Linked DNA regions of Homo sapiens: regions 2, 3, 4, 5 and 6 are each linked to region 1. The links are contacts of gene promoters, found by promoter capture Hi-C in blood cells and fetal thymus (Javierre and others, 2016). All regions are on one chromosome and are shown on one strand. Each heading gives the region's core, a stretch centred on a gene start or on the middle of the fragment in contact. The rest is flanking DNA. Distances are from core to core; before and after follow the strand shown.

Evidence for each region. Contacts are between HindIII fragments. The CHiCAGO score rates a contact against its expected background, and 5 or more counts as called.
Region 2: the fragment with the promoter of UBQLN2 here is called in contact with the fragment with the promoter of RRAGB in region 1 in 3 of 17 cell types (fetal thymus, neutrophils and monocytes); the score reaches 8.7 in fetal thymus.
Region 3: a contact is called between a fragment that was not itself captured here and the fragment with the promoter of RRAGB in region 1, in 2 of 17 cell types (megakaryocytes and non-activated CD4 T cells). The highest score is 6.8, in megakaryocytes.
Region 4: a contact is called between a fragment that was not itself captured here and the fragment with the promoter of RRAGB in region 1, in 1 of 17 cell types (monocytes). The highest score is 7.6, in monocytes.
Region 5: a contact is called between a fragment that was not itself captured here and the fragment with the promoter of RRAGB in region 1, in 1 of 17 cell types (naive B cells). The highest score is 7.7, in naive B cells.
Region 6: a contact is called between a fragment that was not itself captured here and the fragment with the promoter of RRAGB in region 1, in 1 of 17 cell types (total B cells). The highest score is 6.2, in total B cells.

What each region holds. Positions count from the first base shown.
Region 1 is chrX:55,715,416-55,719,743 of GRCh38, forward strand. RRAGB (Ras related GTP binding B) reads left to right here and starts at 2,334. Exons shown (of 10, transcript NM_006064.5): 1 at 2,334-3,004; 2 at 3,899-3,932. The coding sequence starts at 2,913. RefSeq lists enhancers at 2,463-2,662, 2,823-2,952. The HindIII fragment of the contact is 6,209 bases long and covers 49-4,328 here.
Region 2 is chrX:56,560,549-56,564,876 of GRCh38, forward strand. It overlaps UBQLN2 (ubiquilin 2), which reads left to right and starts at 3,079. Exons shown (of 1, transcript NM_013444.4): 1 at 3,079-4,328. The coding sequence starts at 3,326. RefSeq lists enhancers at 2,782-3,409, 3,806-4,005, 4,016-4,075. The HindIII fragment of the contact is 11,191 bases long and covers 1-4,328 here.
Region 3 is chrX:55,130,612-55,134,939 of GRCh38, forward strand. No RefSeq gene overlaps it. Among named protein-coding and RNA genes, the nearest start is that of VCF2, 28 kb to the right of the region's middle. The HindIII fragment of the contact is 3,579 bases long and covers 626-4,204 here.
Region 4 is chrX:55,153,223-55,157,550 of GRCh38, forward strand. The region is part of intron 2 of VCF2 (VCP nuclear cofactor family member 2); the gene reads right to left. Among named protein-coding and RNA genes, the nearest start is that of VCF2, 5.8 kb to the right of the region's middle. The HindIII fragment of the contact is 2,614 bases long and covers 1,175-3,788 here.
Region 5 is chrX:56,259,830-56,264,157 of GRCh38, forward strand. All of the region lies in intron 2 of KLF8 (KLF transcription factor 8), which reads left to right. Among named protein-coding and RNA genes, the nearest start is that of KLF8, 30 kb to the left of the region's middle. The HindIII fragment of the contact is 673 bases long and covers 1,432-2,104 here.
Region 6 is chrX:56,237,594-56,241,921 of GRCh38, forward strand. All of the region lies in intron 1 of KLF8 (KLF transcription factor 8), which reads left to right. Among named protein-coding and RNA genes, the nearest start is that of KLF8, 7.4 kb to the left of the region's middle. The HindIII fragment of the contact is 6,018 bases long and covers 1-4,328 here.

The DNA.
Region 1 (4,328 bases), core at 1,084-3,583:
TGGTTTGGGACTCAGGATCTTTCATCAGACAAGGAAAGCCAGAATGGAAGCTTGTTTGGGGGTAGTTGGTTGGAAGGAGACAAAAGATTAGCTAGTGATAGAGCGAAGGATCACTAATCAGAGTAGAATAACTTTTTTCTTGAGGCAAGGCAGTTGTGGAGAAAAGGAATCACACAGGACCTCAAGTGGAAAGTGTGGGAGCAGACAGTGTAACTGCCCAACGGGTTCACCTTGCCTGCTGCCTAGACAGAGCTGATTTATCAAGACAGGGGAATTGCAATGGAGAAAGAGTAATTCATGCAGAGCCAGCTGTGGGTGAGACTGCAGTTTTATTACTCAAATCAGTTTCGGGGGATTGAAATTTTTAACAATAATTTGGTGGGTAGGGGCTTGGGAAGTGGGGAGTGTTGACTGGTCAAGTTGGATATGGAATCATAGGGGGCTCTAAGTGAGTTTTTCTTGCTATCTTCTGTTCCTGGGTGGGATCGCAGAACTGGCTGGGCCAGATTACTGGTCTGGGTGCTGTAAGTGAAACGAGGGAAGTTCCCCTATCCCCCTTGCAGGGCATGCCACAGCGGGAGTGGCTCACTGCTTCACAACCTCTAGGGGGAGCATGCAGAGGGGCAGGCTGTGGGGCTCCGACCCCATGGCAACCTCTAGGGGTGAATATAACATTTGGGTGGGAAGGCAGGAGTGCCTATCCTCACCTAGGTCCATGGGCACAGGCCCCAGGGTGGAGCCCTAGCCACGGACCCGCCTTTCTCTGCCCAGCACTTTCCTGCCCCGCTCCTGTATCATAAGCTGGTGCATCTGAATGCAGGGTCTGCAAAACATATCAAACAGTGATCTTAGGTTTTAAAACAGTGATGTTATTCCTGGGAGCAATTTGGGGAGGTTCAGACTCTTGCAGCTGGAGGCTGCATGGCCCCTGAATTGTAATTTCTAATCTTGTAATCTTGTGGCTAATTTGTTAGTCCTGCAAAGGCCGACTGGTTCCCAGGTAAGAAGGTTTTTTTGTTTTTTTGTTTTTTTTTAGTGGGGGGCAGCGGGAGGGAGAAAGGGCTATTATCAATTTTGTATCAGAGTTAAACTATAAACTAAATTCCTTCCCAAGGTTAGTTCGGCCTACGCCCAGGAATGAACAAGGACACCTTAAAGGTTAGATGTAAGATGGAGTCGGTGAGGTCTGATCTCTTTCACTGTCATAATTTCCTCAGTTACAGTTTTTGCAAAGGCAGTTTCAATAATAGTACTCTGTTTCCTGCAGTTTCTCTTCCTTCCTTCCCTTTTTTTCTTATCAAAGTAATATATGTACACACTTACGTGTAAATAATACATGTAGTATATCATATATTAATTATAAATAATATAATTAAACTACACATTTATTTAAAATAACATATTTATAACATATTATTTAAGTATTAGTTGATTATATTAAATATAATTAAATGTCATATTAATCTTATTATTATATATCATTTATACATTATAGAAATATATATAGCACAGAAGGGCTTCAGATAAAAAATAATAGTCCCCTGACATATCACGTCCTATCCCCTACCCCATTCTCCAGAAGGAACATCTTTGAACCCCTCTGGGCATTTTTCCTGGTGTGCATATCCCTACCAGTAGTCTTTCTGTTCTCAATTCTAGACTTCACTTATTTACAGATGGGGTCTCGCTATGTTGGCCAGGTTGGTCTTGAACTCCTGGCCTCAAGTGATCCTCCCTCCCCAGCCTCCCAAAGTGCTGGGATTAAAGGCATGACCCACCACTCCCAGCCCTAGACTTTATTTATTGACTTCTTACTATGGTACTTCCTTCACTTCCTGTTTTAAACAAGTGGGAAGATGAATGTGTGTGTTAAAATTCCTGATGAATCCCTGGTTTCAGCAATAACGATAATTTATACAGTATTTGCTATGTGGAAGACACAGTTCTAAGCGCTTTGGATGTATTAATCATTTAATTACAAACTCGATTGCAAGAATTAACAATAAAAAGCAGGAAGGCAAAGACAATGCTCGGTCTTCCCAGTCAAAAACCATTACCGGTAACCAGCAGTAAAAAAGAGAAGCTCAGAGGCACTGAAATTGCAACCGGCTCCTTTAATTCTCCATAGCGGATGGGTGGGGCCAGGCCCACCCACATTAGAGAGGCTGAAGGCTCCCAGCGCCCTACCCCGCCCGAGGGGCGGAGCCTGAGCCAAGGCCACGTGATGATGACAGACGGCACTCTGGCTTTCCTGGAGCTGTCTCTATGGTATTCTTCCCAGCCCACCCGTCCCTTTGGTAGCGGCAGTCACGTGACAGACTCCGGGGTAAGGCAGATGCCCACGTGATCCTGGCCTGCAGTTGGGTGGCTGCGGTGAGATACCTGGGTTCCTGAAGGGCGGGTGGTTAGGTCGTAACTACTGCCCCCGCCGGCTGACTCTCCGAGCGGCCGGGCTCGGAAGCCACGAGCCAGCTGAGGCGTTCTCCGCTTAGTGCCTACGGCATGGGTCAGCTCTTTCTGCCACCTCCGCCTTCGCGGTCCTCACCTCTTTGCGGGTGAAGTTACCTTTGGGTTTCCAGACCTTGGGGGCCTGAGGCCCAAACTCGGGACGAACCCCTAACCCACCTCTCTTTTCCTGTCATTCTCCAACTCTTACTTTGTACCACGGAATCACTTGGCCTTAAAGCTAGCCAGCTCGGCCGTGCCTTGAGGCCAGGTTCGAGAGATAAAGGTAACCGTGGGGAAAGCGGCCCCCCAGTGGACAAAGGCGGAGGCAAGAATAGAGCAGGCCTGAGGGCCATAGGCGATGAGAATAGGCAGTTGAGGGGTGAAAAAGAAAACAAACAAACAACAACAACAAACCCTGAAGAGTACTGAAGATTTAGAAGGGACTGGAAAGGACTTGTTGCGCAATGGAAGAATCTGACTCTGAGAAAACGACGGAGAAAGAAAATCTGGGGCCGAGAATGGATCCACCACTAGGGGAACCGGAAGGATCGCTTGGGTGGGTGAAGGGTATTTGTGAAACCTGGAAGTGGGGGTGTTCAAATTGAAGAGAGTATTGTGAATTAGAACACTTCTCCCCACCCCGCACCATGATAAATTGCTTTGATTTACCAGTAATGTTGATTGGGATTATGCTTTGGACGACAGGATAAACTGGAAAGCGAATTGGTGCTAACTGATCAGAAACAACCCTTGGGAAGGGGCTGATATTCCTGGTGGTGGTGCTGGGGGAGTGTTCTAATTAAAGCAGTTATGAGTTGCTTTGAATTATCAGTAAAGGAGATTTGCTGTCACCAGGTTGGGGATGGAAAGACTAGAAAGAAGATTTGCATTTCCAGGTCAGAGCTTGAGGGTGTTTTCTGTGCCAATTTGTACCTGAATTTGAGACTTACATCTACTTTGTGTCTGTGATGAGTGAAATAGGGCTTGGAAGGACAGCTGAAGGACTAAAAAGATACTTCCAGATTTTAAAATTAGGAGGCTGAATGTTTTTTATACATAGAAGATATTCAATACTCAGTCCTCAAGTAGAGGATATCAATATATTCTGTTTTTTTAGAAATAGAAGATATTGTTTGATTAAAGCAGCTGTGTTGCTTTGATTAAGATGATGAAAAATTGAATCTTGAATTTTAATGGCTCATTTGTATTCCTAAATAAATCTTCCTAGGAGTTCTCTCTTGAACTTCTAATTAGGAGATAGAGAGTATACACACAGTTTTATAATTTAGGAAAATGGGACCTCTATTCATCTGAGGTCCCACACACACAGCTGTACTCAGCCGTTGTACTAAACATGCTCTTTTGTACCTCCATGTTTATTTATACTTCATTAATTTCAATTTCTAAGGGAATTGGATCATGGAAACTGTTTTTTGGTTTATATCTGCAGGTGGGTGCTACCAAATACAGCCATGAAGAAAAAGGTAAGACGTGTTAGATACGTCAAAACCATGAAGGTAAAGGTAAGAAGTTGATATTCAGGAACTTTGTGACATATATACACCATCTTTTCTGGACTATTGCAGGAGCCTTCTGTGTGGTCTGTCTGACTCTCTTCTCCTTGTATGCTATCAGATTTAATTTTTCTAATATGAAAATCCGACTGAGTCATCTACATACTTAAGAACCTTTAGTAACTTCTTTAAGCCCATGGAATAAAATCCAAATGATTTCATGGCCCTTTAAAATCTGTTCCTGACCAAACCCTGTGCCACACTTATGCACCCTATCACAGCCCTACAGAATTTATTGTTCTCCAGATTTACAAATTAATTTGCACTTTGTGTAAGCCATATACACACACCATACAGGCCTCTGTC
Region 2 (4,328 bases), core at 1,829-4,328, 850 kb after region 1:
CTATCTTCCTAGAAATGTAGTCATCAGGGCTTTTTTTTTTTTTTTTTGTCATTAGCCAATCTTTTTACAACGTATTTCTTTTTTATTAAAAAAAAAATCTCCTTCATCTGTGACTAAATGTATTCACACAATACTAGTTCGTATATTTTTCTTGGTGCTTTCTTTGTTTCAGCTAATTAATGCTGTCCTTTTCCCTAATGAGGATACGTATGTTCTACTACTAAAATGTTAATTTTATTTCATTGTAACTTAAAACATTAAAAGTAATATATTTTGAAGTAAAATGTCAAAAAATCACAATCACATAATTTTTAAGGTAAAGAAAGATAATGCAAAGAAGTGTGTTTCTGGAAGGTTTCCTCAAGAGGGTGAGTATGGTTTTGCCCCTCTGATGTGTATTTTGGTGAGGGAATTGTCAGCCAAGACAATCGCCAATTAATAAAGATTTGTGTATTTGACTTGATTCTTCAAATACTTTCTTAGATTTACTTAACAAATTTTATTTTTTCTGTTTGTTAATTCATTAATATTTGCTTTTATCATTCTATAGCTGTCACCTCACTTCCCTCCTTTTATTTTCCGTTGCCTTCTTTATTCGAATGCCTACTTCCCTTATTTTCAATCTGTTGTTTGATATTTTAAGTCTTTGAATGTATAAATTTGACTCTGAGTTCATCCACATAGTACTTAATAAATGAAATAATATTAAACTGGACCTTGATACAAATGCAGCTTCCAGTGCACCACTTATTTCAGTAGGTTTGGCGTGGGGCCTAGAAACATGCATTCTTAACAATGTTCTCAGATCACACGTAGAAAAATCCTAGCATTAGTATTGCTGTATATGCTCTCATTATCATTATTTTTGTAAATTTATTCTAATAAGAACATTGCACTTTGCCCCAAAAGTATTCAGTTATGTTTTAATAATCAAATGGTTGGTTTTTTGTTCATACTTTGATTATTAATATCTAGCTTTATTCTATGGAAATTAAAGATTACCTATAATATTTTCATATTCTCACCACCCATAATTAACTATTGCTGATATTTTATCATATTTGCTTTCATTTTAAAGATAAAAAGCATTTTTACATATTTAAGTTCCCTTTACTCACTATCCTGTATCCTATTCCATTTCCTCTTCCTCATGGGTGCAAGTTTGGTATATTTCTAAAAGAATATTTCAAATATACATAAGAATGTATTAGAGTGCTGTTTGGCATGTATTAGGTTGGTGCAAAAGTAATTGCGGTTTTTGCTATTACTTTCAATGGCAAAAACCATTGTATAATAGTAACAATTCGTTACTTTCAATGGCAAAAACCGCAATTACTTTTGCATCAACCTAATACTAATTAATTTGGCTTTTTAGATCTATACATATTAACATATTTAAAGCTAGTCATCTTTTTACCTCTGTATTTTATTAATTATATTAATAAAATAGAGAGGTAAAATAATATTAATTCTTCCATTTCTCCATCGATGGATATAACATACCTGTATATATATATTTTTCTTATCTTCAGATTTATTAAAGTATTTGTGACCTAATGACTTTGAAATGCTGTTAAATGTTGAAAGCAGTGGTGCTTTGGTGGATGCTTGGTAGAGGGTGGGGGTTGGGGAAGAATTTTCTGTGTGGTTTAACCTAGAGTTAGAAATATATAGATAAATTTGAAATTATTTCTTCTATTTTTCAAGTTCTCTTTCTCAGCATTGCTACATCTTTATTGCTCTTACTTAATCTGTAATTAAATTAGGTAAATATGTCAATGTTTGCCACTACTATTATGTGCCTGTCAATTTCTACCCATACTCTTCCCCAAAATACCTTTCTGTAGTGCATACTTACAAAAATCATCAGAAAATTCAAAATCTTATGAAAATAGAAAATAAGAATTATTCATAATTTCAGCAAACAGTACTAACAGCCATTAACTTATTTGTGCATAGCCTTCCAGATTTTTTTACACATACGGTTTACATATACAACAAACTGTTCAAAAATTGCTTTTAAAATAAAAATATATTTATTGTATTTTTGATATTGGAACATATATTCTTATATAGTTTGTAACTGTACAGAAATATACAAAGGCATAATTGAAAATACTCTGTGATTTCCCTATAACTACAGTTTATTTCATGTATACCTTTAAAGACACTCTATATTTTCTTGTATGGTAATATGATAATGTGCTCAACTAATCTCATGTAAACAGATAGTTAATATATTTAAATAACATTTTAAAATGCTACAATGTATATACATTTTATACATAAATATTTTTGCATCCTCATCCGATTATTAGGCGAAGTGTCTAGGTTAGGCATTTCTAAATAAAGGTGGAAACATTCAAAATGCTGATATATATTTTCAAATTGCCCTATGGTTGTAACAATTCACACTTCAGCTAGCCTGAGAGGGCATTTTTTAGGGTCCCTGTCAACAAGAAGGTTTACCATTATTTTTTTCCCTGCCAATATGATAAGCCAAAAGTAGAATTTTATTGTTTTAACTTGATTTCTTTTTATTAGTAGTGAAATTAATCATCCTTTTTTAATGTCTATTGGCCATTTGCACTCCTTTTGTAAAATGCACGCTCCTGCTCTGTCTTCTTCCCTTCCCCTACTGGAGGTGTTCCTCTTTTCTTTTTGCTTTGTCAGAGTTCTTTATTATTCATTTTTCGTCTTATACGTGGGATCTGTTCGATTCAGGCTTTCACCCTTTTACTGCCTTACAGATTGCTAATATACATTCTCCATTGGTCTTTTAATGTCGTTTACAGAAGCTGACTCTCTACCGCCTCCTTCTCTCCGTCTCACCCTCTCTGCCTCGCCTGCTCTGTACTGTTCTGTTCTCTTCTCTCTCTCCCTTTGTTTCTCTCTCTCCCTTTTTTCTTTTCAGTGCAGAAGTTTTTAATTTTGACCGAGCCAAATCTATCAATCTAGGCCTGGCGCCGCGTCAGCAGAGGGGGCGGGGAGGCGAGCGCGGAACTGGGGGAGGGGAAGGGGCGGGGATCAGCAGGCGGAGCGGCTGCCAGAGTTGCTGGGAGTGCGCGCGGTCGGATCACAAGGCGGCGGCGGAGGAGGCCCAGAGACCGGAGCGCGGAGACCTCAGCCAGCGGCCTACGCCCAGGCCTTTCTCCACCGGAGGACCAGGGAACCGCAGTCTTCATCACAGAGGTACCGTGCTCCGCGCTCCCCGCCTGACCCGGCCCAGCCCGCTGCGGCGGTGCCTCCTTCCTTCCTCCTTCCCTCGCGCTCTCTCTTTCGCCCGCCCGCGCCTTCCCTGCCCGCCTGCGTCACCGCGGCCGCCATGGCTGAGAATGGCGAGAGCAGCGGCCCCCCGCGCCCCTCCCGCGGCCCTGCTGCGGCCCAAGGCTCGGCTGCTGCCCCGGCTGAGCCTAAAATCATCAAAGTCACGGTGAAGACTCCCAAAGAGAAAGAGGAGTTCGCGGTGCCCGAGAACAGCTCGGTTCAGCAGTTTAAGGAAGCGATTTCGAAACGCTTCAAATCCCAAACCGATCAGCTAGTGCTGATTTTTGCCGGAAAAATCTTAAAAGATCAAGATACCTTGATCCAGCATGGCATCCATGATGGGCTGACTGTTCACCTTGTCATCAAAAGCCAGAACCGACCTCAGGGCCAGTCCACGCAGCCTAGCAATGCCGCGGGAACTAACACTACCTCGGCGTCGACTCCCAGGAGTAACTCCACACCTATTTCCACAAATAGCAACCCGTTTGGGTTGGGGAGCCTGGGAGGACTTGCAGGCCTTAGCAGCCTGGGCTTGAGCTCGACCAACTTCTCTGAGCTCCAGAGCCAGATGCAGCAGCAGCTTATGGCCAGCCCTGAGATGATGATCCAAATAATGGAAAATCCCTTTGTTCAGAGCATGCTTTCGAATCCCGATCTGATGAGGCAGCTCATTATGGCTAATCCACAGATGCAGCAATTGATTCAGAGAAACCCAGAAATCAGTCACCTGCTCAACAACCCAGACATAATGAGGCAGACACTCGAAATTGCCAGGAATCCAGCCATGATGCAAGAGATGATGAGAAATCAAGACCTGGCTCTTAGCAATCTAGAAAGCATCCCAGGTGGCTATAATGCTTTACGGCGCATGTACACTGACATTCAAGAGCCGATGCTGAATGCCGCACAAGAGCAGTTTGGGGGTAATCCATTTGCCTCCGTGGGGAGTAGTTCCTCCTCTGGGGAAGGTACGCAGCCTTCCCGCACAGAAAATCGCGATCCACTACCCAATCCATGGGCACCACCGCCAGCTACCCAGAGTTCTGCAACTACCAGCACGA
Region 3 (4,328 bases), core at 1,165-3,664, 580 kb before region 1:
ACAAAAACGCTTACATCATCAAAGAGGCAATAAGGCCTCTGATGATAAGGGGCAAATATGTGCCAGTTGGTGGTGAGAGTTTGAACAAAATAACATGTTTACCTCCTGCCATCTCCCTTTTCACAAGACAGGGCCACAGCAATGTGTGGGATGTGGGTTTTAAGTGTTCAGTCATAGAAAGCACTCATAAGTAATTTTTGGGTGGGTGGATGAGCTGATTGACGACCGTGTTATTTGGAAAGAAGGCCAGCCATTCTATCTAGAAGCCCCAGGAGGGAGTGGCCCATGTACAGACCTATGGCAGTTGTGATGCTAGCGAATCTTGGAATACATGGATAAAGAAAATGTGATGTATATCTACACAATGGTATGCTATTAATCCTTCAGAAATGAGGACGTTCTGTCAACTTCAGACAACATGGATAAAATAGGAGGACATTATGCTATGTGACATAAGCTAAACACATAAAGACAAATACTCCATGTTCTCACTTATATGTATAATCTAAAACAGTTGAACTCATAGAAGCAGAAAGTAGAATGGTAGTTACCAAAGGCTGGTGGGTTGGAGAAATAGGGCCACAATAGTCAAAGGGTACAAAGCCTCAATTAGACAGGAGGAATAAGCTTGATTTTAGATCAATTGCACAGTATGTCGAATATAACTAATGATTATGTCGAATATAACTAATGATTGCATTCTGTACTTTTTAATATCACTAAGAGTAAATTTCTAATTTTGTTTGAACAACAAAAATGTTAAATATTTGAGGTGATGGTTATATTAACTAGCTTAATGTAATGCAGAAAGGTAGAACCTGAAATCCAGAGAAATAAGTTATTTCAGTAGGTTGTTTTTTTATGTAGGACACCTGGAGAAGAAAAAGGCATGGCCAGCTCCTTTATTCAGATAGATCAGTCTGTGAAACTTCTTGCAGTTTTCCAATCATAGTTGAGTTCAATTCAACTTGCACTAACACTCCACCAAAAGTCTCAGCCCTGCTTCGTGGCCCTGCTGTCATCTTCCCTCCTGGCCCTGAGTATTTCTTTGGTTTTTGTTCAGGATATGACATTCTGGACATTGGTAAGTGCCATTTGATTTGAGCTCTTATCTATTACTTATCAATATACACTCTCAGAAATGGCCCCTAGATTCCTGCATAATGATCAGAACTGTCTCTCTCTCTCTCTCTCATTAATGCTGCCTCTTTCTCTCACACACACACGCGCACACACACGCACTCACACACACACGCACACTCACACACACATACACAATGTAGTAATGGGCTTGTCAGGCCCTTTCTCTGGTTGGTTTCCCCAATATTTTTGTCCCTTCAGTCCCTGAGATTGGTTCCATTATTCAGCACAGGTGTTCAGGAGACAGAGACATGTGGTAGCCATGTTTTCAAACATGTCCAACATAGGTGAATGAATATACTTTAGGCTTCCAATATGGTATGTTCTCATATGCCAAGGATAGATGGAAATGAGGCCACTCTCCAGGGGACAGAACAAGTCTAGTGCGAGCTTTCTGCATAAGGACCTTGCAGCCGTTCTGGGACACTGTTAAGCATAGAGATGGCCAACAGGATAATCTTCTCACAACACCACAGCTTGGTGTTTCCTGCTCTTTTGACAGACTTTCAGATGGAAACCAAATAACTTGATTGGAAAAATCTATTTCAAGAAAGAAGAGCCACCTCATATGGGCATTTTCTCCCATATAGGAAGAGCTGCCTTGGGACAAGGATGAAGAACTAGAAATTATCCCAGCAACCACACATCCTGCTAGTGACCCTATGGGTCAGAGCATCTTGCAAGAACCTACATGGAGGACTCCAGTGGGAGATTCTAGTGGTCTTACTTGGCTCCCACACAAAGAAGTATCTTGGTTGGGACTCCTATGCCTATCACAGATGGAGAGAGTCCAAGGCATGGGTTGCATTTTTATATATTTAGAACATTAGCCACATGCCCAAGATTTCCACAGAGTGGAAATTGACCATCTGTCTTTTCAGAAGGGAAACACAGACCAAGACAGTTTTGTGCCCAGTAATACTGGAACCTCAGGCTCCTTTGTATCAGACCCACAGGCTCTGCTTGTGAGCAACAGCTTTATTACAGGTCTTCTTGATCCTCATGCCCCAGTGGGCACCCAGCACAATCTTTATGAGAGAGAAATGGAGAGCTTCATTTTTACCATGGCATACATGACCTCGCAAATTAAGTATACTTGGTTTTGTTTTTAGCAAAATGAAGTCCCATGGGTCTCTAACATGGTCCAGACAAATCAGAAGGCAGGTAATTGGTAACATGACCTCGCAAATTAAGTATACTTGGTTTTGATTTTAGCAAAATGAAGTCCCATGGGTCTCTAACATGGTCCAGACAAATCAGAAGGCAGGTAATTGGGTGTTGAATAAATACTTACAGACAAATCATATGAAGGAATGGATGGAGACACGGTTTTACAACAGAGAGGGAGGTTTAACCAAGATATGAAGATTTGACATAAAAAAAACTGTACAACTTCAAACAAGGGTTTAGATGTTGTACTTCCTGTTCCAGGATGCATGTGAGTTGAGAAGCATCACTTAAGTGGATATATAGTACTTAAATCATTTGGGGATTTTGTAGTGTTTGGTATTGGCAGTGGGGAGAACTCCATGCTCCAGCATCCAGAAAGATGCATGAAAACATGGTTGTATATGACAGCTTTTCTTGACGAGGTAGGTCGTGGTGAAAACATGTCACAGAATCTCCAAAGTAGGTGACTGGGCTCAGAAGAGACAACAGAGGACCAGTTTTGAAATTAGGAGGAAGGTCCCTTCAGGGGATCCCTTGCCCTGCCTCACAGGATGATATTGGAGCTTTTAATAGGGTGTGCACTTTGGTTTAGTTCATGGCCTATAGACACTCTCCAAACATTTCTTGGATAGGTATGTGGATGGAATCATAGTTTCATGCATCCATAGACAGAGAGATGGACAGACAAATGAATGGATGGATTGAGGCAAGATTATGCAGTGTCAGTGGTGTCACATTTATGGTATAAAAGTCTTTGTGCAATTTGCAAAATAAAGGGAAGCCTGATATCTTTCAGTTCATGTTTTGATGTAAGTGTTTCTGGAAGAAAGAGGGTAATGGGAAATACAGCTGAAGGGGTTCACTGGGGCCAGGAAAGCCTTGACCACCAAGTAAGATATAAAGTAGTGGGGCCCTTTTAGAACTGACCAAAAATATGACCCAAAAGGCATCTGCATCAGGTTAATCTGGCAGCAAAGAAAGGAAAGACAAGAGGAGACAGAGAAAGAAAACCACCCCTAGAATATTATTGGATTAATCTAAACGTGAGATGATTGTGATCTAAATTTGAGACCTGGAAGTAGTAACTGAAAAATTATAGGGAAGAGACATCCAAGGAACAATTGGAAGGTCAAGGAGGGCCTAGAATATCTAGGGACATGGTAGTGGGATGCATTGAGATATGAAGGAATGTAAGCACATTTTGGGTAGTCTTGATGAATTTTGATTTAGTTATACTGATAATGAGTTGACAGAGAAACTTACTGGAGCAAATGTTCAGCATGGAGAAGGGAATGCATATCTGGAATTTAAGGCAGTGGTGAGGACAACAATAGACATCTAGTAGTCATGTGCTTAGAAGTAATGTTTGAGGAAAGAGAATCCTGAGGCAGAGAGGATAGACTAAAATGAGTAGAGGCTTAAGTACTGAATTCAAGAAATATTTGATAGGGTGTGTGTCTTAGTTTGGCTGCCTGCTATAACAAAGTACCATAGGCTGGTGGCTTATAAACAATAGAAACATATTTCTCACAGTTCTGGAGGCTGTAAGTCTGAGATCAGGGTTCTATGAGGCCCCCCTTAGACTTGCAGACTGCTGGCTTCTTGCTGTACTCCTAGGTGGTGGATAGCTCTCTGACTTCTTATAAGGGCTTTAATTTTGTTCATGAGGGCTCTACTCTCATGACCTAAGCACTTCCTAAAGGCCCCACCTCCTAATACCATCACATTGGGATCAGAGTTTCAATACATGAATTTTGAGGGGACACAAACATTCAGCCCATTGCAGTGGGGGTGTGGCAAAGAGGAACAGCTTGGAAAGAATTCCATTGTGCACTCAAAGAGACAAGAGAAAAAGTAGTAAGGCAGAAGATCAGAGAAGGGAAGGGAAGGAGAAAGCTTCCAGGAGTGGTGGTGAATAGGGCTCCATGCTGTTGAGAACTGAAAGAAAAAAAACTGAGAAAAGGCATCTACCATATTTGTTAACTAGCATGTGAGATGACAAAATTAAGCTTGCTTCT
Region 4 (4,328 bases), core at 1,232-3,731, 560 kb before region 1:
AAAATAAACTTTCTATATTGAGACCTGTCTCAGATATTTTGAGTTCACATATACAGAGTTGGGACTTTAAATAATTTTTTTTAAATTTTAGTTTTGTATTTTCACTTTCTTTTTTTAAATTTTTATTTATTAATTTTTTTTTTTTTTTTTGAGACGGAGTCTCGCTCTGTCACCCAGGCTGGAGTGCAGTGGCGCGATCTCAGCTCACTGTAAGCTCTGCCTCCCGGGTTCATGCCATTCTCCTGCCTCAGCCTCCCGAGTAGCTGGGACTACAGGCGCATGCCGCCACGCCCAGCTAATTTTTTTTTTTTTGTATTTTTAGTAGAGATGGGGTTTCACCATGTTAGCCAGGATGGTCTTGATCTCCTGACCTTGTGATCTGTCCGCCTCGGCCTCCCAAAGTGCTGGGGTTACAGGCATGAGCCACCGCGCCCGTCCTGTATCTTCACTTTCTAACTCATCCACTACAAATATATTTCTTTTGTGAAAAAGAAACATTTTAAGTAGGCAAACTAAAGAATGCTACTACAAAACCAAGTAAAATCTCCTGCTTATGGATTCAGTTACTTCTGACTTCAAAGCAAAGACTTAAAAAGCACTGTGATTCCATAACCGAGATTTTGGGAAGAGGGTTTAACCTCCTTTAGCCTAGTAAAGAGCATCTACAAAGTCATATACACTAGCATTTTCTAGGCTAATAATGCTGTTTATTTAATAAACATAGCCTATATTATGCAACCTGGGCTTTGTCACACTTACCTTGTGAATCTGTTTCATGTGAGATCCCACTTAATGGACCGTTTATCAGAATGATTAAGAGGAAAATTTGCTTTTGATGGTGTATGGTTTTGACACTTGAAACTGCTATCTTAGTACAGAAGCATTAACCTTAATACACTTTATTTTATTATTTTTTTAGAGACAAGCTCTTGCTCCATCACCCAGGCTGGATTGCTGTGATGCAATTGCAGCTCACTGTGGCCTTGAACTCCTGGGCTCAAGGGATCCTCCTGCCTCAGCCTCCCAAAGTGCAAATTCTTTTATCAGAGAATAAATGAGATTTTAAGCACTTTAGTATTTGGAAAGGCTCATAATATATAAAACATCTTCACCATCCTCCTGAATCCTCATACAAATGTCTTACCAGAATGCTTATACTATCTGACAGTTACAAAGCTTATTCTTTTTTGTCTGAATTTTCAATATAGGTTTAATGCTTGATATCTGTGCAAGGCAAATGAAGAATAGAGCCCTTGCAAATTCACACACATAGCAAAATAAAATTATATTTATGAAGACTCTAAAGAAGGGGATCTCATTATGCAAAATTCACAAAGGCACTTTACAAAACTCCTGGGGTCCAGGTCTGTGTGAAAAAGCAGGATTTAGGTTAGTTTGGGCCATAAAGAAATCTGCATACTTACCTGTAACCAAAGAAACTTTGAGGCCAGCAGGGATTTGCTATAATACATTCTGTTTCAGAATAGGCATCAAAATCACCGTGTGGTTTTCTAACACTTTGACTCGTGTGCATATGCTGGGGCCCAACCTCTGAGAGGCTGTCAAGTAGGCACAGATTGTTCTGATGCCCAAGCAGTATCTAAACAAATATTCGCATGTCTATTATACAATGTATAAGAAGGCACTTTGCCTGGGCTACTTAGGGATTCAACAGGTAATTCTTGAGCCTAATCAAGAAGCATACAGTACTCTGAGAATGACAGCATCAAGCTATTGCAATGACAAGAATGTAGCAATGAATGCTGACTGGGGAAATAGAGGAGGCTTCTTAAAATGAAATGCATCTGAGCTAGGCCTTCAAAGATACAGAGAATATTAATAGGAAGGGTGTGACAAATGGAGAGAGCAATAAGAGCACAAGCAAGCTGAAGAAGAGTTCTTGAGGAGACAAAGCCACAGATGATGTGGCTGGTATCTCCCAGAGAAGAGTTAGTGAGAGCTAAAATATGCAAGAGAAGATACGGCTAGGTTATCAGGGGCCTTGAATGTTACTCTAAGAAGTCTGTACAAACAGGTATTTGAGCATAAGATAAATGCTCAGATGTATATTTAGGAAGAGCATTTTAATGGATGAATGAAATAGGGGGTGGATGAGACCACAAAAATCACTGGGAAATTTTGCAATGTATCAAGCAAGAGGCAATGCAAGCCTGAATTAGGATGGTGGAAATGTAAAGAAAGGGATATATTTGATACACGCAGAGGTAGAATAGAAAGGAATCATTGAGGAAATGACAGAGACACTAAGTTGATGCCAGGCACCCAGGACAATGATTGGCAAATGGTAGGTGCTCAGTAAATATTTGGTAATGCAATTTAGGAAGTCTCAGATGTTTCCTGACATGTTACAGCAAAGGAATAGGGAGGGGATGGAGGAGCTAAGGTTTACTGAGCACGAATGGAGGTGAGAAACAAAAGGGAGTGAATGCAGATTACAGTTTGGATTTAAAAGAGAGGGAAAAGACACAGTACTTGAGAGAAAAATAAACTAGACACAAGATTAGTTAGGGAGTGAAAAGAGAACCTTAGCAGGCTAATGAAGGATAAATAGAACTGAGGAGATGAGGAGGAATATTAGTTACAGAATATCTTCACAAAAACAGAGCAGAAATTCATGCATGTATTCATGATATAAAATTATATAACACTTTTTAATGATAAAAGCAGATGAACCCAGTATTTTACTTTCTTCTTCTTCTTTTTTTTTTTTTTTTTTTTGAGAGGAAGTCGCACTCTGTCACCCAGGCTAGAGTGCTAGAGTGCAGTGGCACGATCTTGGCTCACTGAAACCTCCGCCTCCCGGGTTCAAGCGATTCTCCTGCCTCAGCCTCCCGAGTAGCTGGGACTACAGGTGCGCGCCACCAAGCCTGGCTAATTTTTGTATTTCTTTAGTAGAGGTGGGGTTTCACCATATTGGCCAGGCTAGTCTTGAACTCCTGACCTCATGATCCACCCGCCTTGGCCTCCCAAAGTGCTGGGATTACAGGCGTGAGCCACTGCGCCTGGCCCAGTATTTTACTTTCTTTCAAGCCCTAGCTTTCCTCTCAATTCCATCCCTCCATGCCTTACAGCTTTTCCTTTATGTGAACCTCCACAACAAAACATTCACTCCTAATACATAGTCTATCCCTGGAATAATAATATGATGCTTATTCAAAGGCACCTGTAGAAACTTGAGTAAGTAAAACAGATGATCCTAACCAAATCCATCAGAGGGCACTTAAAATATGTGCTCCCAAAGTTCCAAGGCATTTAAAATGACGTGTACACATTCTCTAATACTAGAAACATTGTGGAATCTTATGAATTGTAAAATACAAAATTAATTAGGTTGTTGAATTACAACCACTTTCCAAATTAGCAAGGTAATGATATTCATGTGTTAACTTCTCTGTGCTGATGGGGTAAATAATCAATGCTTTTTGTAGCTTAGTTTCCCTCCTAAGATGAAGTTAGAACAGACACTGAGTTGTAAGTTATTTTCCAGCTCAAAAATTAAATTTATAATAGAATCTATACAACTATTTAAAAATCTATACAACTCACCTTGTTTCAATTCAGTAAATGGGATTTGAACAAACAAAAATGAAAAAAAAAAGACTGATAGGTAATCCTCACCTGCAGAAAAACATGTGGACATATTCAATTCATTAAAACAACTGAGATTGTAAGATTCAATTGCAATATGAAAGTGCTTGGGATGTTTAGTATGCTCCATGAACACGGCTTCTTAAAATGTACAAAATAGATTAGGCCATCTTTGAAAAAGCTTGTTCCTCCATTTTGAATGTATCTTTAAGTAGAAGCTAATTTCAGAAGGTTCCCATTTTGCCATAGGGTTTAAAACCACATCTGATGACCATTACATTGTTCAACAACGATTTCATCCCCAAAAATGTTTCCCAAAGTAGTTCTGTCTCTTAGAATTTATGTGATCAAACGTGATGAGAATGACTCCAAACTACTAAGAACCTAAGAGAAAATGTTCTTCAAAAAATTTCACCAAAGCCGGGGCGTGGTGGCTGATGCCTGTAATCCCAGCACTTTGGGAGGCCGAGGCGGGCGGATCACTTGAGGCCAGGAGTTCGAGAACAGCCCGGCCAACATGGAAAAACCCCACCTCTACTAAAAATACGAAAACTAGCCGGCCATGGTGGTGCATGCCTGTAATCCCAGCTATTCCGGAGGCTGAAGCACCAGAATCGCTTGAACCCGGGAGGTGGGGGTGCAGTGAGCCGAGATCGTGCCACTGCACCTCCAGCCTGGGTGACCCAGTGAGACTGTCTCAAAAAAACAAAAATGCCCCA
Region 5 (4,328 bases), core at 518-3,017, 540 kb after region 1:
GTCCTAAGCTATCTGGAGAATTCTCGGTTTGATGTGAAGTATTACTTTCCTAGAATTGCTGAAACAAACTACCACAAACTAGGTGGGTTAAAACAAGAGAAATGTGTTCTCTCACTGTTCTGGAGGCCAGAAATCTGAAATCAAGTTATTGTCAGGGTCATGCTGCCTCTGAAGGCTTTAGTGAAGAAACTTTTCCTTACCTCTTCCAGCTTCTGGTACATATAGGTATTCTTTGGCTTGTAGCCCCATCACCCCACTGTCAGCCTGCATCTTCACATTACCTTCTCCTCTGTGGCTCTGTGCGTTATTCCTCTGTATGTCTCTTATAAGGACACTAGTCATTGAATTTAGGGCCCACCCAGATAATCCAGCAGGATCTCTTCAAGATCTTTAATTACATCTGCAAAGATACTTTTTCCAAAAAGACTCTGGGAATTGAGGTGTAGACGAGTGTTTTTGAGGGTCACCATTCAGCCCACTACAATGTGTTATATATATTTTCCAATGTACAGTACAATAGAGTAAGCATAAATATTAAAATAAAATAACTTCATCCATGTATTACCCAAAAACAACCTTAGATTCTTTGAGAAACAAAAACTGATTTAGTATTTTTCACATTTTCTATAGTTTTGTGCTAGGTACTAAGCAAATACCTAGTGAACAAATATATGCATACATATACATATGTACATACATTTGTACATTTATGATCTCATTTTGCCTGATTGTGGCTACTACCATCCCAATCTCTTAAAATTGCCGGGTTTGTTAGATTAAGTCTAGGTTTCTAATAATACCCATCTCCATCCACCGCTCCATTTTCTAATACCCAAACAGATAATGCTCTTATTGGAAAAAGAATTGAGTTTTAGAAGGTTAAACAGACTTTTTGACCTAAACATGAATGTGTACAATACATGTGTGCATATGTATCCAGGCATAAAACTAATTGGTTTAACCCAGAGCAAAGCTGGAAGGTACCTGTTTACAAAAACAGGTTTCCTCTTTCTGTTTGGGAGGAGCCTAGGCTTTATCGTGTTTCTATAACATCCCTTCCTCTCCTTCCACCTACTGTGCTGTATATAGTATTTTGTTCTTCATTTCTAATCTTGCATTACCACTTTCAAGCTCCACATCAGAGCTGTTTCAAATACATGAAAAATGGAAACTTTGTAACAGTTGATTCCACTGATTCTCAGGGCCTCTCTACCTATCTTAATCAAATGCTTAAATATTTGTGAAATTAACCAACTTTTCTCAGAGTTTATTTCTAGAATTGAGAGGGGTGTTTCCTAAGAACCGAAAGGGTCTCATCTTTAGTAATATATGAATAAATAACTCTTTTTATATTTTTTTGTCCACTCAAATTGGCTTAAGGAAACCTGATAAGGATTCTGGGTATTTGAGGAGTAGCACTGTGGAAATTAAAGCTTGTCTTCAAACCACCCCTAAGTTTCTTTGTTTTCTTTCATGCACAACCTTCTTCATAGATTCAGAAATCCGGAAATTCAGGATAAAGTCTTAAAATAGCAAATGGGGAAAGTAGCTATTCTCTTTGATAGTGATTGACTAGAGAACACTTAAAAACTGAAGCCATCACACCACACTAAAAATGAAGAAAGATTACTTTAAAAGAAAAATCTGATGACAGAACAATCCTCAGATGAGTTTCAAAGCTGAAGTGATTATATTCAATGAAGCATGAAATAGGTAGCCATCCTGAGTCATCTTAGTGAGGATTCTTAAAATCACCAAAATTCTAGGGACAAAAACTCACTCAATCAAGACTTGAAGGTCTTCTTCAGAACCTTCAAGCATAATATGCTATCTATAAAGATAAGGTAAAGCAAATAGGGTGTTGGGGTTTTTTTTAACCATAGGGAGGGTTATATTCAAACTATGGAATAAGTTAGACTGTATAACAATATTTTTATTAAAATTATTTTGATCATATTGAAAAAAGAATCCTCAGTGCACACAAACAAAACTTATTCACCCTGATAGTGTGTAGATATGGAATGCTTGTCTTTAAGCCACAAAGGAAGGAACAGTAAGGTCAACCTTGAGACCTACTTTTGAGAACAGTCTGTTTTCTTAAGAAAGCTTGCATTCAGAAGACAATATTTACACCCAGAAAATACTTGCTACAAGATAGATTCACTTAGACATAAGAGGCATACTTGGGAGTGATATGTACAGAAAAAAGTATGTGACACTATGCTTTGAGGAAGTTACTATTAAGATACTAAAACCCAAACAACTCCCCTTCCAACACTTCTCTCAAAGCCTTTTGATGGCAGGAGAGAAGTAATGATTGAAGCCCTGCTGCAGACAGGGTTTGGTTAAGAATTGGCAAACCACAAAATAGGTTTAGTCTATGAAAGGACAACTAATGATGGCCTGTTGGAGCAGGACCCTGTAACACTGTATCTCATCAAGGCAATAAGAATAGGCTATCAGTTCTTCAGTTTCTTGACTTTCATCAATCAGTTTCCATTTTAGATGTTCCTACGTAATGTTTTTCAATAAAATGCATACCTGCAGATCAAGTATCAGCTAAACACAAGGCCTTGAGCTAGTAACATTGTTGTAGGCAGCACTCATCTCACTGAAATGGCCTTTCTTTGGCAAAAGAGAGTAAAAGTTGCCAAAGTCGTGTTTATTTTATAGTTAGGATTCAAAGCTTCAGCTTTTTCAGGTTTCTTAGTCCAAAAAGTCCCTAAAATTTAGCTAAATCTTTTCTTAATTTCAGTGGCAAGTTGTGTTTATTTATACACCTGCACCCACAACTATATTCTTACAGAAAATGATATTACAGTGAATTATTATTATTATTATTATTATTTTTGTGTGACAGAGTCTCATTCTGTTGCCCAGGCTGGAGGGCAGTGACAATCCTCCTGCCTCAACCTCCAGAGTAACTGGGACTACAGGTGCATGCTACCATACCTGGCTAATTTTTGCATTTTTAGTAGAGATGGGGTTTTACCATGTTGGCCAGGCTGGTCTCGAACTCCTGACCTCAAGTGATCCACCTGCCTTGGCCTCCCAAAGTGCTGGGATTACAGGCATGAGCCACCGCGCCCGCCCTACACTGAACCTCTTCTTATGCTTTCTATTGTAACTCTATTTCTCACTGTTATTGACAGCAATGATAGACTATGGAAAGAGATAACATTTTTTCTTTTGAAGATTCCTTGGATTCTATCTTTTTAATCTGGGAATGGAGCTACTCAAGTGAAGAGTTATGTGGGAAATGTAGGAAAAATAAGAGCTTAAGTTGATTTGGGGGATTCTGAGAACAGGGGAGTTTTATGTTCAGCAGAGCCAATCTTGACAACTTCCTCTCCCTGTCAACAGGATTCTACTCCCCCCTTATCTGGATGGGTCAAATCCACCCATGAGGGATGGGTTACATTTGCAGTATGTGAAACAGTGGGACAAATCACAGAAATCATGTCCTGGAGGAGCAGATTGAAGCAATGTTTGGACCACAAACAAGGGCTGAGTTGGGATAGGTGCTGGCAAATCAAGAAACCAAGAGTGTTGTAGCATAAAAGAAGGGAAAAGAAGATGGCAGTCTGGCCAAATTCTGGAGACAAAGCACGGATGGGTTTTTGGTGCCGTTACTCATTCCCAGCCTGCTCTGAGCATTGTTGTCATGTGTTTTTGACGCAGAGTCTTGCTCTGTCACCCAGACTGGAGTGCAGTGGTGTGATTATAGATCACTGCAGCGCTCTGAGGGTTTTTAAAATAAAGTCAGAGCAAGAAGACACTGCCTCCCCTGCCACTTATTGCTCTCTGAATTCAGACCCTTATTATCTCTCACCTAAATTTTAAAAAATCATAAGCATAACATAATTATCACACCTTAAAATTAACTAATTCATTAATATTGTCCAATATCCAGTCAATACTCAAATATTTTTACATGTCTCATCGAGATTTTTCCACTTGCTTTCTTTTGAATGTCTTTGAATCTAGTTTTATTCCTCTTTCAATCAATCTTCATTAAGAAGCTAGTTAAATCTCACAGAAATAGTTCTTCCCTTGTTACTCCTCTCTTCCAAACAATTATCTTCTATCACCCAACCTTTCATTGAACTCTACCTTTCCTCATCTTCCAAATATACAAAACTAAAAGTGGTTATGTTTTATATAAAGGATGTATTCCTTAACATTTTTCATAATTTAAAACTCCCATAATTCAAGTATCATGCTGATAGATAATGGAAGCTTGTTTGTTTACTGGCTAAAGAGGTGGTACCACCATCTCCAAAATCATCTTCAAGATCCAGAGTGTTGCTTGGCAGTGGCATACACAG
Region 6 (4,328 bases), core at 1,342-3,841, 520 kb after region 1:
ACTATATGCATGAGCCACAAATTTTTAAACAGTTTTCTGTTGATTGATCTTTAAGTTATTTCCAAACTTTTGCAGTGTTATTTGTAATAACAATAAAAACTTTTGTAAGCAGTGCATTAGAGAGCTCAGGCTGCCATAACAAAATACCATTGACTGAGTGGCTTAAACAACAGAAATGTATTTTCTCACAGTTCTGGAGGCTGGGAGTCCATGATCAGGGTGCCAACATGGTCAGATTTTCATGAGGACTCTCTTTCTGACCTGTAGAAGGCCACCTTTTCACTTTGTACTCATGTGATCTTTGTACAAATGGGAGGAGAAAGAGTGAATTCTCTCTGGTGTGTCTTCTTAGAAAGACACTAATCCTATCAGATCAGAACCTCACCTTTATGAGCTCATTTAACCTTAATTTCTTTCCTAAAGGCCCTATCTTCAAATATAGTCACTAGGTTAGGTCTTCTACCTATTAATTTTTTTTTGGAGAGTGGACACAACACAAGTCAGTTCATAGCAGTGTGTCAAATTGCCTAGTCCCACACTTTTAAAAGTTGGTTGATTGCCAATATTTCAAAATCAGATTTCCCTTAAAATTCTAGAATTCTAGGCCGGGCGCAGTGGCTCATGCCTGTAATCCCAGGACTTTGGGAGGCCAAAGCAGGAGGATCACCTGTCAGCAGTTCGAAACCAGCTTGACCAACATGGTAAAACCCCATCTATATTAAAAATACAAAATTAGCCGGGTGTGGTGGTGCATGCCTGTAATCCCAGCTACTCAGGAACCTGAGACAGGAGAATCGATTGGACCTGGGAGGCGGAGGTTGCAGTGAGCCGAGATCACACCATTGCACTCCAGCTTGGGCAACAAGAGTGAAACTCCGTCTCAAAAGAAAACAAAAATTCTTCAATTCCAGTTTCTTTTGACTAATCAGAAGATACTGAACCAGCATTCTCTCTTGGCAATAATTGCCTAGAGTTGATGAGCCTCTCCCTCCCTCCCCTTTAAAACAGTACTTGTATTTTTTGTTCACCACATTACTCATCTGGCCTAGGTGGCCTTAACCTGTCTGACCCCTAGTCTAGATATTGAGATTATGGCACCTATGTAAGCTCTTACCGCAGTACTCATAGAATATTCCAATAGCTTCTAGTTCTACTTTGATTCTTTCTGCCCTCTCTACTCTGAGGACCACTGCAAGGATATATTCCTTAAAACACTTTTAAAAATTATGTTACTCTCCTTCACTCCACAGTCATTTACTGGGTGTCTACAAAGTTGGAAGCATCATGCTAGAAGCTGAGGTGATAGTGGTAAACTTACCACTTTAGGTTAGGTAAACTATCAGTTTAGGTGGGACCCTTGCCTTCATGGAGTATGCAGTTTACTTTTCCTCTCGTCTGGATTTCCTTTCTGTTTCTTCTTGACTGTCGTAGTTCTTCAAAGCCCACCTCAAAGCAAACCATTTATTTGAAATTTTCTCTGACTATTCCATTCTCAGTAATCTCCTCCTCTCCCAATTATTGCTCATAGCCTCAAATCATAATCCAGCAATGCAGCATCTATTATCTTGTAATATTTGATTGCTATTATTTTATGCATAATTGTTTCTCATCACACGGACCTGGGATCTCAAACTTAAATCTCCAGGGCCCAGTAAAATGAGAAAAGCATGCCCTGTCTAAAGGGGACAGCTGTTGATCATCTCCAGCTAATTTTTCCCTTGTGCCAATGTACACTCTGTATTATAAAATCTCTCAGCTTTTTTAGAAAAGCAAGAAATAGGATTTTTTTCTTAAAACATGAAATCTGCATTTGAAAGGTTGTTAGATGTTTCTGTTTTAATCTTTAACATCACTATGAGAACCAGGCCAACATCTGCAGTGGGCTGCCAGTTTTCTCTATCTGACCTAGACTGCAAATTTACTGAGGATAGAGGCCAGAGACCATGAAGTTTTCTTCCTTCTGGTATTACCTCCTCCCTCCTTCCCACATAATATCTACTACAGTGTTGACTATTTAGTAGGGTCTTGGTAAAGACTTGATTATCATCAGAAAGTTCCCCTTTAAGTTAACCATGATGTCCTGTAAATGACATAGTAGTTCTACTTTCTCCAAATACCTAAATGTGCCTTTGAAGACAATTATCAGGCCAGCTTTCTTTTTCCCTGTCCCCCTTTTTGCCAGATGTAATCATCTACATTTCTTGATCTAGCTCCATTTTGTTTTCTTTTAAAAAAATTGGTTATTTCTCTAGTTTCTTTCATTTTTTTCTGCATTTCTCTTCTATTTGCCATTTTTCTTGAAATATTGTACATCACAAATAAAGTACAGTATCTTCAGAAAGGTCTACATGATGCTGAGCATATATTTAAGTTTGATTATTTGGAGCTAATTATTCCATCTCTTGTTTCTTCCTATACGTTCAATGATGCGGTTGTTTCATCTTCAGTTAGAATGGGCGGGGATGTGATGTGAATATATTTATTTCTTGTTTGTTAAACTAGTTCTGATAAATATACATAACAGTTGGTGCTAAAAGAATAATAACATACTTATTCCTTAATTTTGTAGCTAGATCCTAGAATAGATGTGTAGCGTTGAATTGGCTACTGCATTAACCTCACTTTCTGGAGCTCTACAAACTGAAATGGTCCAAGACTCTTCTAGGATGCCTTGTCTTGGTGCTCCTGAGCCACTGCTCAGGCAGTGAGTAGAAAAGTTATTCAAGAGCCAAGGTCTCTTCCCTTAAGTACCTGTTGCACAAAACATGGATGAGGACCAATTGTATTGTTACAAATTATTTGTGGTTGCCACACTACCACCATGTTTAATTTATTGGAGGAGATTGTTGCATGAAATAAAGGTATGAAGTAATGAAGAGGATCACATGAGATGTTACATAATGATTCAGAGCAATGAGTTTTTGCTGCTGTGGCTCTTTGTCCCTTAGTGCCATGCTGGAGTTGTAATTCCTAGAGGTTTTGTTTTATAATTAACATAATAATTAGTGGGAATCTTTTAATACTCTGTACATATATTCAATATTAGAGTTTGCTGCAAAGATATAAAAACACCTTCATTATTATTATTTTCAACTCTAACAAACTATTTCAAAGTACAGGGTAGTAGCAAGTACTTTAAGGAAAAAAAAAGAGCTTTGGTATCAAACATCATACCTGGATTCCAATCCCAGCTCAATAATTTACCAGTTTATGTGACCTTGGGATTATTTAATCCCATTGACTCTATTTCTTCATGTGTATAGTGGGATCAACAGTAATACCTACCTCACAGGGCAATTGTGAAAATTAAATATGTCCCATTAGAAATGCCATGAAGTGTGGCACACGTTTACCTATGTAACAAACCTGCACGTCCTGCACATGTACCTCAAACTTTAAAATTAAAAAAAGAAATGCCATGAAATGATATATCTGGGATTTGCATAAAAATATACATTGAGGTAGGGGGAGTGGGTTGAGGTACAGATGAAACAAGGTTTACCATTAGCTGAAAATCATTGAATCTGAGAGTAGGCGCATGGGGTTTTTGTCTACTTTTGTATGCATTTAAAATCACCCATAATTTTTTTTTGAGATGGAGCCTCGCTCTTTCATGCAGAGTGGAGTGCAATGGCATGATCTCAGTTCACTGCAACTTCCACCTCCTGAGTTAAAGTGACTCGTGCCTCAGCCTACCAAGTGGCTGGGACTACAGGCATGTGCCACCACACCTGGCTAATTTTTGTATTTTTTAGTAGAGATGGCATTTCACCATGTTGGTCAGGCTGGTCTCAAACTCCTGACTTCAAGTGATCCACCCGCCTTGGCCTCCCAAAGTGCTAGGACTACAGGCATGAGCCACCGCACCCAGTCATTCATAGTAATTTTTTAAATGCCATTGGAATGAGACTCAAGTTTACCTGATGGTTTGTAGAAAACTTAATCCTTCTTGACATCAATCTCACAGGTTAAGCAGAAACCTGAGATGATTATTATGGATTTTCCATCTATGTCCTTGTAATAAAATCATATATCATAGAATGTTATAAACTGGAAGGGATCTGAAAAGGACTAAGTAGTTTACTCAAAATGACACTGCTAGACAACAGTGAAGCCTGATCTAGAATACAAGTCTCCCAGATCCTAGTTAAATGATTTTCCCATTGTTTCACATGGCCTTCTTTAATAGTAAGAGTTTTATCTGCTTATTGCATATAAGATTAATTATTGTCTAAACATAAATATATTTGTTCAATGGAGATTCAAGGCAAGGGGACTGGTTCTAGGCATCTGAGATTATGTTTCTATAATACCTTTAAATCTGTTTT